Linked DNA regions of Homo sapiens: region 2 is linked to region 1. Evidence: promoter capture Hi-C in human tissues and cell types (Jung and others, 2019). All regions are on one chromosome and are shown on one strand. Each heading gives the region's core, a stretch centred on a gene start or on the middle of the fragment in contact. The rest is flanking DNA. Distances are from core to core; before and after follow the strand shown. Region 1 holds the start of ZNF287 (zinc finger protein 287). Region 2 holds the start of CENPV (centromere protein V).

Evidence for each region. Contacts are between HindIII fragments. The study calls those that stand out against the background at their distance.
Region 2: a fragment that was not itself captured here is called in contact with the fragment with the promoter of ZNF287 in region 1 in 2 of the 25 tissues and cell types used here (spleen and thymus).

The regions. Positions count from the first base shown.
Region 1 is chr17:16,564,583-16,571,238 of GRCh38, reverse strand. It overlaps ZNF287 (zinc finger protein 287), which reads left to right and starts at 2,035. Exons shown (of 6, transcript NM_020653.4): 1 at 2,035-2,287; 2 at 3,310-3,910; 3 at 4,617-4,714. The coding sequence starts at 3,508. RefSeq lists enhancers at 1,971-2,470, 2,471-2,972. The HindIII fragment of the contact is 5,740 bases long and covers 1-4,415 here.
Region 2 is chr17:16,346,958-16,353,936 of GRCh38, reverse strand. It overlaps CENPV (centromere protein V), which reads left to right and starts at 468. Exons shown (of 5, transcript NM_181716.3): 1 at 468-910; 2 at 3,908-4,006; 3 at 5,252-5,321. The coding sequence starts at 501. RefSeq lists silencers at 259-408, 469-1,078. The HindIII fragment of the contact is 6,129 bases long and covers 1,776-6,979 here.

The DNA of each region.
Region 1 (6,656 bases), core at 786-3,285:
AAGCACTCTTATTTATTCCCTTTTAATCTTCTCAAATTCTAGCTTATCAGATATTAGAATTATTACTTGTATCAGTCAGGGTTCAATCAAAAAAGCGGAACCAGTAGATATTTAAGATACTTGTGGCAAAGAGTTGGCTTACTCGATTGAGGGGGTGACCAGGTGAGTCCAAAGTCCATAAGAGCACCCCATCAGGAAGGGCAGGCTGGAAGCTGTGGTACGCTGATGGAGTTTCTTCTCCATCAGGGAAACTTCGGTTCTTTTTTGAAAGCTTTTAACTGATTGAATCAGGCCCACCCAAATTATCTAGGATAATCTCCCATGCTACTTAGTCCAACTGGGTTTATGGGCTTCAATCTCATCTACAAAATGCCTTTACAGCAACACCTAGATTCGTGTTTACTTAAATAGCAAGAGACTGTAGCCTAGCCAAGTTGACACATCAAAAGACCATCACACTCCCCAAGTTTGTTTTTTTTTTTTTTTGAGATGGAGTCTTGCTCGTGTCGCCCAGGCTGGAGTACATGGAGTGCAGTGGCAAAATCTCAGCTCATTGCAACCTCCGCTTCCCAGGTTCAAGTGATTCTCCTGCCTCAGCCTCTTGAGTAGCTGGGATTACAGGCGTGCGCCACCACACCAGGCTAATTTTTGTTCTTTTAGTAGAGACGGAGTTTCACCATGTTGGCCAGGCTGGTCTCAAACTCCTGACCTCAGGTGATCTACCTGCCTGGGCCTCCCAAAGTGCTGGAATTACAGGCGTGAGCCACCGCGCCCGGTCCAACTTTCTTTTTGTTAAAATTTTCCTGGTGTGGTGATATTAAGAGTCTTTGACAGTCCTCCTCCACCCTCACAGGATTCTGCCTCCATTTGATTCTCTGTAGGCTTGTGATTGCTTTGACCAAGAGTCTGACAGAATTGGTGTTAGGTGACTTCCAAGGCCATGTTATAATTGGCCATGGCGCTTCTCTCTTGTTCACTGGAATGCTCACTCTTGGAGCCCAGAGCCACCATGTAACAAGTCCAGCTGCCCTCAGTCCTTTATGCTGGAGAGACCACATTGAGGCACTCTGGTCAAACACAAGCCGAGTTCATCTTTTAGCCCATCTCCTCCCAAGCAGTAGACATGTGAGTGGAAAAGCCATCTTGGAAGCGGGCCCTCCCAGCCATCAAATCATCCCAACAGAGGCTACAGACATAATGAGGCAAAGGCCCACCCACTCAGTTCCCCTTTCAAATTCCTCACCATGAAATTTATGAGCATAATACGGTGATTGTCCTTCAAAACCACTAAGTTTTGGGGTGGTTTGTTAATAGAACAGTAGATAACGGGAACACCTTGAATATGTTTTTCTATGCTTTTATTTTTCCAGTGTTTTATGTATTTTTGTTTTGTGTCTCTTAGAAATAACAGCTACTCGGGAGGCTGAACCCAGGAAGTTCAAGTGAGAATCACTTGAACACAGGAGAATCACTTGAACCCAGGAGGCGGAGGTTGCAGTGAGCCGAGCTCGCACCATTGCACTCCAGCCTGGGCGACAGAGCGAGACTCCGTCTCAAAAGAAAAAAAAGAAAGAAAGAAAGAACATGGGTTTTTTTCCCCCAATCTGAGAGTCTCAGAATCAAATTCCTGAGGAGGAAGTGAAAACCTTTCACAGTTAGTATGTATGCACAGTAAAGCCCGAAACCGCACATTAAGTCTTTCTGCCTTTAGACCCACATCTTCCCTGCCCATTCTTCCTCTAGGAAATCTGGCGCCCAGTTTTCTCTGCGTAGTTGGCGCGGGGCTTCAACTCCCGGCGCTCCTCCAGCTACTGGCACCTCCCTGGCCTCCAAGACGTCTACCAGACCTGCGTCTGCCCGGGGAAACTTTGAAGTTCCCTTCGGAACCTCGCAGGCTGACAAGCAAGTCAGAGCGATGGGTGGAGGAGGTTGCCATGGAGACAGGTCCAGGGCCAGAGGCGCGGGAGGGGGAGGCGGCAGCTTGGGCTCCGATTGGCTCTGCGGGCGCGCAGCGTTCCTCTGGCGCACATGCGCAGTGACGCCGAGGCGAGGTCGCGGCTAAGCAGAGGCGCCGGGGTTTCTGGGCCGGGCTTCTCAGGACCGGGCTGGAACGTGCAGCTCCTGGCCGGGACACTCTGTGCTTTGCGGGGAAGGGAAGTGGCGGAGCCCGAGGATCCGCTGCCGCTCGGGACTGAGCCCGCCACGCAGGCGCCTGTGCCAGCGTCGCCATTGTTGCCTGTGGCCTTAGGGCCGCTCCGGCTGCCCGTCGGCCGGGTCCCAGCGACAGGTATTGATGTCCGGGCGCAGCGCGCGAGTGTCCGCGCGATCAGTGACAGCCCGAGCCCGTCCACGCGCGGGCTCCCGTGCTCGTGGCTTGCGGGAGGGCAAAGACGGGGTGGAGGCTGCTGTGGGCCCAGTCCCAGCGTTGCGCGTCGCACGGTCCCCGACTCCCCCGCTGCCCTCGACCTCGACCCTGCGGCTGAAGAGGAGTAAGAGGCAGAGGGACTTGGCCGGGAAGGGGAGGCGACAGGAGGCAAGGCAAGGCTGTCGCATCACCTCCGCAGGGCCTTGTAAACAGTTGTCTTTGGTGGCACGACTGTGCCTCAGCAGGGCTCGGAGCTGGAGCCTGGGGAGAGGTGGTGTCGGTTCTCCTCCAGATCAGGCCGGTTCTAAGGTTTCCTTCGAGAATCCTGGTTTCGAATATATCCCTAAAGAACTGTCTCCTATAGAAGCACTTAAAGGACTTGAAGTCACACCAACCTCTTCACTCTTTTCCAGTCCAACCCGCTGGTCTTCCCAACCCTCTGATAGTGAAAGGCTAGAATCGGCTGGCATTAACATGCAACGCAGATAAATGGCTCGCCCTTTCCCCTGACAGTTCCCTTGGGAACCTTGAGCACTGTATTAAGAAGAAATTCTCCTAGTTTCTTCCAAGTAACAGATTCACTTTGTTATTGTTGAGAGTCCGTTCAGTCATTACAGCTTCTGTAACATCAGTGACTAAAATAATGAAACTATTTTCTCTATAAAAATGTTTAATTTTTGTTACAACAGGTTAGAGGTTTAATCTGTTGTTTGGCTTAGATTCGAGTCATTGCCTCTGACACTACCTTTTTAATAGCAGCTCCATCCCCCACCAACCCCAAGCAGATGGCAGTTCCCTTACAAGTCTAAGGATATAGGGGAGGAAGACAAGGTAAAGCTTATGTGTGTTCATCTATGCACACTGCGAGTCTGTTTCTGTGTGTGTATATGTATAGTAGAGTACACCAGGGATTCTTGACCTTGTGGTCCATGCTTGTGTTTCAGGGTCTCTTATCCATCCCTGCAAGTTCTGGGCTCAGAATTTGTCACTAAGGCTGCTAACTCTACCTTGATTCTGTTCTGCCCTCGGCTGCAGCAGCCTTTGATATAGTGTCCTTGTGACTCTAGCATGAGACTTCAAGCAGTTGGCTCACTACTGGAGAAATAAAGGATATTGCCAGATTGACTCTCCTGTCTGTAGCAATGTTAGCCTCAAGCAAGAGGATGAACAGTTCTTCACGTTCTCAAATCCTTCTAAGGTGGAAGTCAGACAAGGCTCAGAGTGGACCCTACAATGTTGAGAAGGAAATCCTTACTTCAAGATTCTTGCGTGACACTGAGACCTGTCGACAGAATTTTAGGAATTTTCCATACCCAGACCTGGCTGGTCCTCGAAAGGCATTGAGTCAACTCCGAGAGCTCTGCCTTAAGTGGCTGAGACCTGAGATTCACTCAAAGGAACAAATTTTGGAGCTGCTGGTGCTGGAGCAATTCCTGACCATCCTGCCTGGTGAGGTTAGGACTTGGGTAAAGTCCCAGTATCCAGAGAGCAGCGAGGAAGCAGTGACTCTGGTGGAGGATTTGACTCAGATTCTAGAAGAGGAAGGTGAGAATCATAGAGCAGAGAGGGGAGGAATCCCTGGGTGGTTAAAGAAGACAACTAGCACATCTGAGCAGCTCCTTTAAAGAAATCAGGGAGAGCACTGAGAGGTCCAGGATGCATTTTTTAAAAAGAAAGAAACTGGGGAGAACAAAGGTTAGTGAGTGAGAACAAGGCTTTAACATGAGCTCCATCCTGCATGGTGTTCTCCTTCCAGATTGCTTGGGAGCAAACACACATTATCTAAACCCCCAAGAAAAACGTCTTGAAATAATGACCAGACGCAACCAAATTACCACTGTGTGAGCCCTCAGAAAGTACCTTCAGAGGTTTGCACCATTCTACTAATAAATCATTTGCTTTGTGAATTGAATTTTACAATAAAATACTTCCAAAAAAGGAAGAAAGGGTCTAGAGAACATTCCCTTATTAAGAGATAACTCACAAAATTAATATCACATAAGGATTTAGTTAAAATGTGAATTTTGTTCATACTCTTTAAGATTTTTAGAGCGAGCTTGTTTTTGAAGTCTGTTTTGATGTCTTAGGACAAGTCATTGGCCCTTTCCTCTGATGCTTTGAAGTAGGAGTGCTGTTTTTGATTTCCTTCTTACTTCTCGATTTAAGAAAGTGTAGGCATCTATTTGGTGAGGGGTTTCCTAGGCTATTCAGAAAGGACTAATCTCCCTCATGACCTCTTTCTCTTCTCTAGCTCCTCAAAACTCTACCCTTTCCCAAGATACCCCAGAGGAAGACCCCAGAGGAAAACATGCTTTCCAGACAGGATGGCTAAATGACTTGGTGACCAAAGTGAGTGTGACTGTCTTTTCTGATTTTAAAATGCCTTCTTAGTGTGTGAGGACATTTTCTGACCTGGCCCTATAACTACTGTGCCCCCAGAAGCTCTATCAAGGACTTAAGCCCCAGTTTCTCTCCTATGTTATCTTGGTCTGTTAAGGTAGGTGAATGTACTATAAAGAAAAGGTGCTTCCATTGCCTTCCCTTGATATGTCTTTCCTTACTTTGACTTTGTCAGCAATATCACATAGAGAATACGAGATTGACCTCCACAGCCAGATGGATTTAGGTTTTGTTTCCCGGCTCTACCATTGGAACTGCAATTTGGGACAAGATACTTAACCTCTCTTAGCCTGAGTTATTCTACTCTCATAAATAGAATTTACCTCTTAGGTTGTGAGTATTAAATATTATGAGACTTGTAGTTAGCCTGGATTACAGTTAAGCAATTAATAGATGATTGTTACTATTATTTTTCCTCATTAACAAGTAGTTAAAGGCCATGCATTCTGTCATATTACTGTTGGTCATGAATTTATATATATTTTTTGAGACAGAGTCGCACTCTGTTGCCCAGGCTGGAGTGCAGTGGTGCGATCTTGGTCCACGGCAGCCTCCACCTCCTGGGTTCAAGTGATTCTCATGCCACAGCCTCTGGAGTAGCTGGGGTTACAGGTGCATGCCACCATGCCTGGCTAATTTTTGTATTTTTAGTAGAGACAGGGTTTCGCCATGTTGCTCATGCTGGTCTTGAACTCCTGACCTCAGGTGATCCACCCGTGTTGGCCTCCCAAAGTGCTGGGATTACATGTGTGAGCCACCGCGCCCGGCCATGAGTCTATATTATTTTAAAGAATAGTAACTCAAGATACCTTAAGAGAAAGATTTACTGTAAAAATATAACTGGTTTTTCTGAAATTGGAAAGCTTTTGGTAACCAAGTTAAAATGATTATTCATTGATAGTGTGAACATTTACCTGGAAAGCCTAACAAAATCAAGGGAAAAAGTGTTAGAAACACTAATAGAAAAATTGGATAAAATGACTACAGAAAATGACATGCAAAAATCAATCACTTACATATATATACTTATATATATATCTACATATATACATATAAAAATGAGATAAATGATAAAATGAAAAAAATGCCTCCAGTATCACACCCCCGAAAAAAATTTAAAATATCTAAAACTAAGCATAATATAAATATTGCAGTACTTTCATGTCTAATATTTTGTAGAACATGAAAGAAACCTTGAATATTATAAAGTCATCAGTTCTCCCTAAGTTATAAACTTAATACAATTTTTAAATCCCAGTATGATTTAAAAGAAAAGATTTTTTAAGAGATGGGATCTCACTATGTGCCCAGGCTGGTCTTAAACTTCTGGCCTCAAAGTGATCCTCCTGCCTTGGCTTCCCAAAGTGCTGGGATTACAGGTATGAGCCACTGCGCCTGGCCTCCAATATGACTTTTTTAAAGATACTGACAATTATATGAAAAAATAAACACGTGGCCAGGCGCAGTGGCTCACACCTGTCATCCTATCACTTTGGGAGGCCAAGGCAGCTGCATCACCTGAGGTCAGGAGTTTGGAGACCAGCCTGGCCAACATGGCAAAACCCTGTCTCTACTAAAAATACAAAAATTAGCTGGGCATGGTGGCGTGCACCTGTAATCCCAGCTACTCAGGAGGCCACTGCACTCCAGCCTGGGCGACAGAGCAAGACTCTTTCTCAAATAAAAAAAGAGAAAAAAGAAACATGTAAGATAATACTATATTTTTAACAAAAGGAGCAAACAAGAAAAGCACTAACCTTACCAGATTGTGAAATGTATTTAACAGTGCAGCAGTTCAACACTGTGATTATTGGTATCTGTTATATTTTTAAAAAGAAAGACTGAATTTAACCATAGAACACATAAAAATATCTTAACATTTTAATTATAA
Region 2 (6,979 bases), core at 3,591-6,090, 220 kb after region 1:
ACTGTTCTATAATGTGACAGAAAAGACGAAGGTGAAGAACTATGGTTTCGGCCGCTGTTACACAGGAGGTAGCAGGTGGCAGGCCGTTTACACAAATTAGCTCGTTTTTGGAGACGAAGTTACCCCAGGCTGCCCGCTCGGATGAGCCTGCGAATTCAGGCCCAACCCAGGCCCCTCCAGGTCGGGAAGGTACGAAGAGCCCGCTGGATTCACACAGGGCAGGGGCGCCTTCGCAGGTGCGAGTGGATTCTGGGTATCGCGAGCGTAGGCCCAGGCGCAGCCCCTCTGCCTGCGGGACTGAACAGGCAGGTGCGTCCCAGCGGCCGGGCGGGCCGGGTCTCCCTCCTGCGGGCAGGCGCCGCGCTGCGGGGCGCGGCTGGCGGAGCGGGGCAGCCGGGCGCAGCGCCCCCTGGGCCTGAAGACTGGCGGGCGGCGGGGGCGCGCGCAGGCCGGCGGGGGCGCGCCGCGCTGCGAGGCCTGCGCGCCAGGCTGCGGGAGCCATGCGGCGATCGAGGAGCTCTGCGGCCGCCAAGCTGCGCGGGCAGAAGCGGTCCGGGGCCTCCGCGGCCCCCGCGGCCTCCGCGGCCGCTGCCTTGGCACCCAGCGCCACCCGCACACGGCGCTCCGCTAGCCAGGCCGGGAGCAAGAGCCAGGCGGTGGAGAAGCCGCCGTCGGAGAAGCCGCGGCTGAGGCGCTCGTCGCCGCGGGCCCAGGAGGAGGGCCCGGGGGAGCCGCCGCCGCCTGAGCTGGCGTTGCTCCCGCCACCGCCGCCGCCGCCGCCGACTCCCGCGACCCCGACGTCCTCGGCGTCCAACCTGGACCTGGGCGAGCAGCGGGAGCGCTGGGAGACGTTCCAGAAGCGGCAGAAGCTTACCTCCGAGGGTGCCGCCAAGCTCCTGCTAGACACCTTGTGAGTGCGGCGGGCCGGGGGGCGCGGGAGCCGTTGCCACGCGGACCCCCTCGGCAGGAGTCGGGCTCGCAGCCCGCGTGCAGGCCTTGGGCGCCTTTCAGCTCTGAGCCTTCCACGTTACGGAGCCGACGCGGCTCCCCCGTTAGCACTGGGGTTATTCCTTAATTCTAAGGGCGGCGGGGCGGGGCGGTGCTTCTAGGGCTGTGTGGCCTGGGAATGGAAAGGGGGCTTCGTCCGGAGCTTGAGGGCGCGCGCAGCCGTCTTGGGACACAAAGAGTCTTTCCCGGCCATAAGCATCGTGCTCGGGGACGTTGTCTCTTGCTGGCGCGCAAAGGGTGTGGGGGCCTTTCTTAGTGAAAAGAACATAAATCCCACGGCTTTCTCTTACCCGAATCCCCTTTTTTTTTGTGTTTGCACACGTGTTTTTGAGGGTGGGTGGAAGGGAAAGGTAGAAGCGTTGAAGGAAGCATGAATAGTTTTGAACTCACTGGGAAGCAAAATCCCGTCATTGTTCCAGGCACTGCCAGGGAGGGAGCAGGGGGCGGAGGTTATTGATCCGGGAGAGAAGCGCGCGCGAAGAGATGCTCCGGCCTCGCGCGGCGGCGGGGATACCTACGTAGGGAGGCTTTTATGTGCTCAGCCAGCTAATGCTCCCTGCCGCTCGCCCTCCTGGCTGCTCCGCAGTCTTTTAGATGGCCCGAGGAGCATCTCGAGTGTCCGCGATTTGGGAAAGAGCTTTTAACTGGGCTGTTAAAGGGCTGCCTTCTTTTCTCCAAATGCGATCTGGATTCCTGCCTCGGGGAACAGTTGTGCTACAGAGAGATATTTTAACGCCCTGATATTATATTTCAGTGTCAATTTTACGAATTAAAAAGAACAATCAAAACACTAGGGGGAAAAAACCGACAAGAATAACCTAGCAATTGCATAACCTGAGAATTACTTCTTTTCTTGAACATGTTCCTTTGAGCTTCTTGCGGAAGAAATTCTCTTAGGATGAGTCGTCCCCGACAGAAGATACATATTTGGTTTTCTGTGTGCTTCACTTTTTGGTTTTTCATCTTGGACTGCACACTGAATTTTTAAAAAACGTTCATCCATCAAACATTTGAGCACCTATAGGGTGACGGCTGCCTCTGGGCAGAAGGAATACGAAGATCCTTAGGAATGTAAAACTCATGGTGTCTTCAAGGCATACAGAAAAAAAGAAGAATGTAAAACTCAAATTTGAGATAAATTTTTATTTTAAGACAAACTGATAAATGGTCAAGAAAAAGTTTTAAAATATTGACATAAAAAAGCTGTTTTTCTCCCACTAGATTGCCATGACTTTGTACTTATAAAGTCTACTAAATTATATTCAAAAAGTGTGTATAACTGTACCATTTTCGTTAAAATATTGTGTAGAAAAAAGTTTGGGGGAATATATAACAAATAATTAACTGTAGATCCCTCTGGGTGTAAAGATTACAGGAGGCTTTCACTTTGAGCACTCTCAAATAGTGTGAAGTTTGGAGTTTTTACAATAAGCATTATGTGTGCAGAAAAAATTAAAATACATAAACGTAAAGAAACATGAAAAAATGATCAGTCTTAATCATGCAAATTAAAACTGCAGTGAGCTATTTTTCCTATAATTATTGCCTGAGACTGTACAGTGAAATGTTTTCTCATTTATTTATCGGGTAAGGGTGTTCAATCCTTTTGGAAAGCGATTTTAAGACATTTATCAGATCTTAATGTTCATTTCTGAGTTTGGCTTATATATAAGCTTTAAAGGGTTAAAATTGTATGTAGGCTGGGTGAGGTGGCTCATGCCTGTAATCCCAGCACTTTGGGAGGCCGAGGCGGGTGGATCACCTGAGGTGGGGAGTTTGAGACTGCCTGACCAACATGGAGAAACCCCGTCTCTACTAAAAATACAAAATTAGCTGGGTGTGGTGGTGGGCGCCTGTAATCCCAGCTACTCGGGAGGCTGAGGCAGGAGAATCATTTGAACCCTGGAGGTGGAGGTTGCGGTGGGCTGAAATCGCGTCACTGCACTCCAGCCTGGGCAACAAGAATGAAACTCCCTCTCAAAAAAAAAAAATTCTATGTAATGTGTATTACAACTATGTAAAACGCATGTGTATGAAGAATACTGGAAAGAAATAGAGCAAAAATATAAGAGCCTTTATTAAGTTTCTCAAAAGGCTCTTCTGGACCTCTGGACTTGATTGAGTACACAGTCTTATTTTTCATAGCAGCCTGTACCTCCTTTATCACAATCATAATTAATTATTATTTGAGTAAATTGTTAAGGTCGGTAAGGGTAGCAATCGTGTCTGCTGTATCTTGTTTAGTGTTCTCTCCTTCGTGCCTAGCTCATAAAAATATTTAGTATTTGAGGCCCGGAGCAGTGGCTCACGCCTGTAATCCCAGCACTTTGGGAGTCCCCGTGGGTGGATCACAAGGTCAGGAGTTCAAGACCAGCTTGGCCAAGATGGTGAAGCCCTATCTCTACTAAAAATACAAAATTAGCAGGGCGCGGTGGCAGGCGCCTGTAATCCCAGCTACTTGGGAGGCTAAGGCTGGAGAATTGCTTCAACCCAGGTGGCAGAGGTTGCAGTGAGCCAAGATCGTGCCACCGTACTCCAGCCTGGGCAATAGACTGAGACTCCATCTCAAAAAAAAAAAAAAAAATTTAGTATTTGACATATAAATAAAAATGTCTGGTGGTGGGTTAGGATCCCTCACATTTTCGAAATGTTTGGAATGTTTTATTTTGCAACTTAATATAATTTAAGAAATTGGTGAAAAGAGAGCTCATGGACAAAGAAGGTGCTGAAACCATTCTTCACTTAGGAAATTGACAGTGCCTCCTTAAAAGCAGAAATGCATCTGGTTGTCATGTAGAAAAGACTTTTGTCTAATCTTCTGTCTTTCTTTCAGCAACAAAAAGAGAGCAGGAGGCAGCTATTCAGAAATTATTATCTTTCTGATTTTTGTTTCATTTAGTGAATACCAGGGCCTGGTGAAGCACACAGGAGGCTGCCACTGTGGAGCAGTTCGTTTTGAAGTTTGGGCCTCAGCAGACTTGCATATATTTGACTGCAAGTGAGTATTTTTTTTTCCCTAAATTGGCTTAAAAGAATTTCAGAGTTAAAATGCAATATTTCAAAATAATCTGGGGAGTTGGGGTACAGAGGAAACATTGGCCTTGGGCTGGTAACTGTTGAAGTCAGGTGATGGGGACAGAAAGGTTCATTGTTCTATTTTTGTTCCTTTTATATGGCTCATCACAGAGCTTCAACAGCATGGCCCAGGTGACACAGAGCAGGGTCCTCAGGGCTTGTGGCTTGTGGCAGCATCACCCTCAGACTGACACTGCTGAGGAGCCGGGGGCGGTTAGCTGCAGGTGTGCCTGGCTGGGTACTGAGTGGAAAGCCTTGGGCAGAATCTTCATAGAAGTCTAGAGTTGGGGAGAGTTGGAGGGTATGTTAGTAAAGGGTGTATACACCTGGAGGCTCCCCAGGCCCTCCACTCTCGCTCTGCTCTTCGGTTGAGGCAGATGGCACTGCTGGCTGTGGAGGGCCTGATTTGTACCACCTTCCCCGGCGTTATGATGGAGCAGGGACGACAGGCTCTGGCTTTGGGACCCAAAGTTGGCATGCAGCTAATTATTTAACAGCATCCAGTCCTTTTTGCCCCTAGGTACCGGAATTATATATGAATAATAAGCACATACGATGGAATTACTCAAATGGAGAACTGACCAGGCTACTAACAATAGAGTCCAGATTGGAAAAGAAGCACTGTGGAATAACTTGTGAGAGGATTCTGTGCTAAATTAGAACTTTTTCAAAGGTGGCCTGAAAAGAGGGGACTTCAGTTTAATTCCAGAGATGGTAATTCTGGGGACGTGTTTTACTTGGAGCTGGACTTCTTGTGACGTGGTGATGAAGAAAGAGGGAAACCTAAACTTCCTTGTCCATTTTTGGTGTGGATGTCTCAGAGACATCAGGTTGTAGCAGTGTCTGAAATTTGTTTCCTAAGTGTCTCTGAAGTCCAGCGCTTCTCTTCACTGTAAAGAACTGAGGGGTGGGCAGTACAGACCTGTCTGTTGGTCCTGTGTTCTGAGCATTGCAGAACCTCGACTGCTGACTTGGGACCCCCCTGGGCTCTGCTGTACCTGCAAACCAGAGGCACTGCTATCCAGGCCTTTGCCCCAGCTCCTCGGCCCTGGATGGTGCTGAAAGGGGCATCATCTGTGGGGTCGGCTGGCTCTCATGGCTGGGCCGCTCAGGCATAGAGGATGCAGGTGGCTGCTCACAATCTGGAATTTGCTCTGTCTTTCTGTAGTTGCAGCATTTGCAAGAAGAAGCAGAATAGACACTTCATTGTTCCAGCTTCTCGCTTCAAGCTCCTGAAGGTCAGTGCTTAAGAGCAGGGTCAAGGAGTGCAGAACCCATTGGTGAGATTTACAGGACCCCCCACCCAACTGTTAGCATGCCGTCTGTAGCATGGGAGGGGCCTGGAGCATAGCAGGGCCTCTCACGGGCTTTGGTTTCAGGTTGACATTTAAAAGGTGGGCCCGGCACAGTGGCTCACGCCTGTAATCCCAGCACTTTGGGAGGCCAAGATGGATGGATCACCTGAAGTCAGGAGTTGAGGACCAGCCTGGCCAACATGGTGAAACCCTATCTCTACTAAAAATACAAAAATTAGCTGGGCGTTGTAGTGCATGCCTGTAATCCCAGCTACTTGGGAGGCCAAGGCAGGAGAATCACTTGAACCTGGGAGGTGGAGGTTGCAGTGAGCCGAGATCACACCATTGCACTCCAGCCTGGGTGACGAGTGAAACTCCATCTCAAAAAAAATGAAAATAAAAAATAAAAGGTTGTGTTATTTTTTACCTTTATTTTTTGGAGGCCTATTTGGTATTGTGGAAACATTTTCAAATTCAGAGAATCAAAAAACAATAAAATCACCCAAATCCTGTCAACTAAAGGTAACCACTGTTAATATTTTGGTGTCTGTCTTTGTGTATTATTTTCTACTCTGAGAAATACATCTAAACCTATTGTCTTATGTTTATTAAGTAGAATTTTACCATTCTTTTTGTTGATAAACTGCTTATCTCATTTCCCAATGAAAAGCTTATATACTTATTTGTAACTTTAATTTTATTATTTTGGGGAATTTTTTGTACTTGGTACAAAATTTGAAAGGTAGAAGAAAATGTGTATATACACAGTGAAAAATCTTTCCCTACTGTCCCCATGCCCCAGTCTCCCTCTTCCCCACAGCCGATTTCCTGGTCTACTTACCCCATCACTGTCTCTGCATCATTGCAGTTGAGTCCCGTTTTTTTCTGATTATCAACAACACTGGTGAACCTCCTTGGTATACATTTTTGACAATTTAGAAATTTCTTCTTTAGGATCAATTCTCTTAGAAATAAGTTCTCTGGCTATTCTGGGCACACTTCCTACACCCTGCTCTACAAGGAGCAGTTAAAAAAAAAGAGAGAAAGAAAATCTCCAGGTTAAAGAATACAGATTTTTTAAAAAAGACTTTTAGCACATTATGGGTAATGTGGGGTTGGGCGGGGCTTTAATTCCATCCAGATAATGCTGGATGGCTTGGGACCACTTGGCAGTCCTTCGCTGCTTTTCTGTGCTGCAGTGGCTATGGAGTGAGCAAGGCTCCTCAGGGAGCTATTTCTATAGGAAGCACAATTCTGGACGGTATGGCTGGGGAAGCGTAAAGAGGGTTAACAAGGATAAGAAACCTCCACCCCTTCCCCTTCAGCTGTCTGATTTCTCTCCCTAAAGGTAAGCCACTGTTTCTTGGATCCCTCTTCAAAGATACATATGCATATAAAAGCACATACAGGCCAGGCACAGTAGCTCATGCCTGTAGTCCCAGCACTTTGGAAGGCCAAGGCAGGCAGATCACTTGAGCCCAGGAGTTCAACACCAGCCTGGACAACATAGCGAGACCCCCATGTCTACAAAAAATAAAAAATCGGCTAGGTGTGGTGTTGCATGCCTATAGTCCCAGGTACTCGGGAGGCTGAGGTGGGAG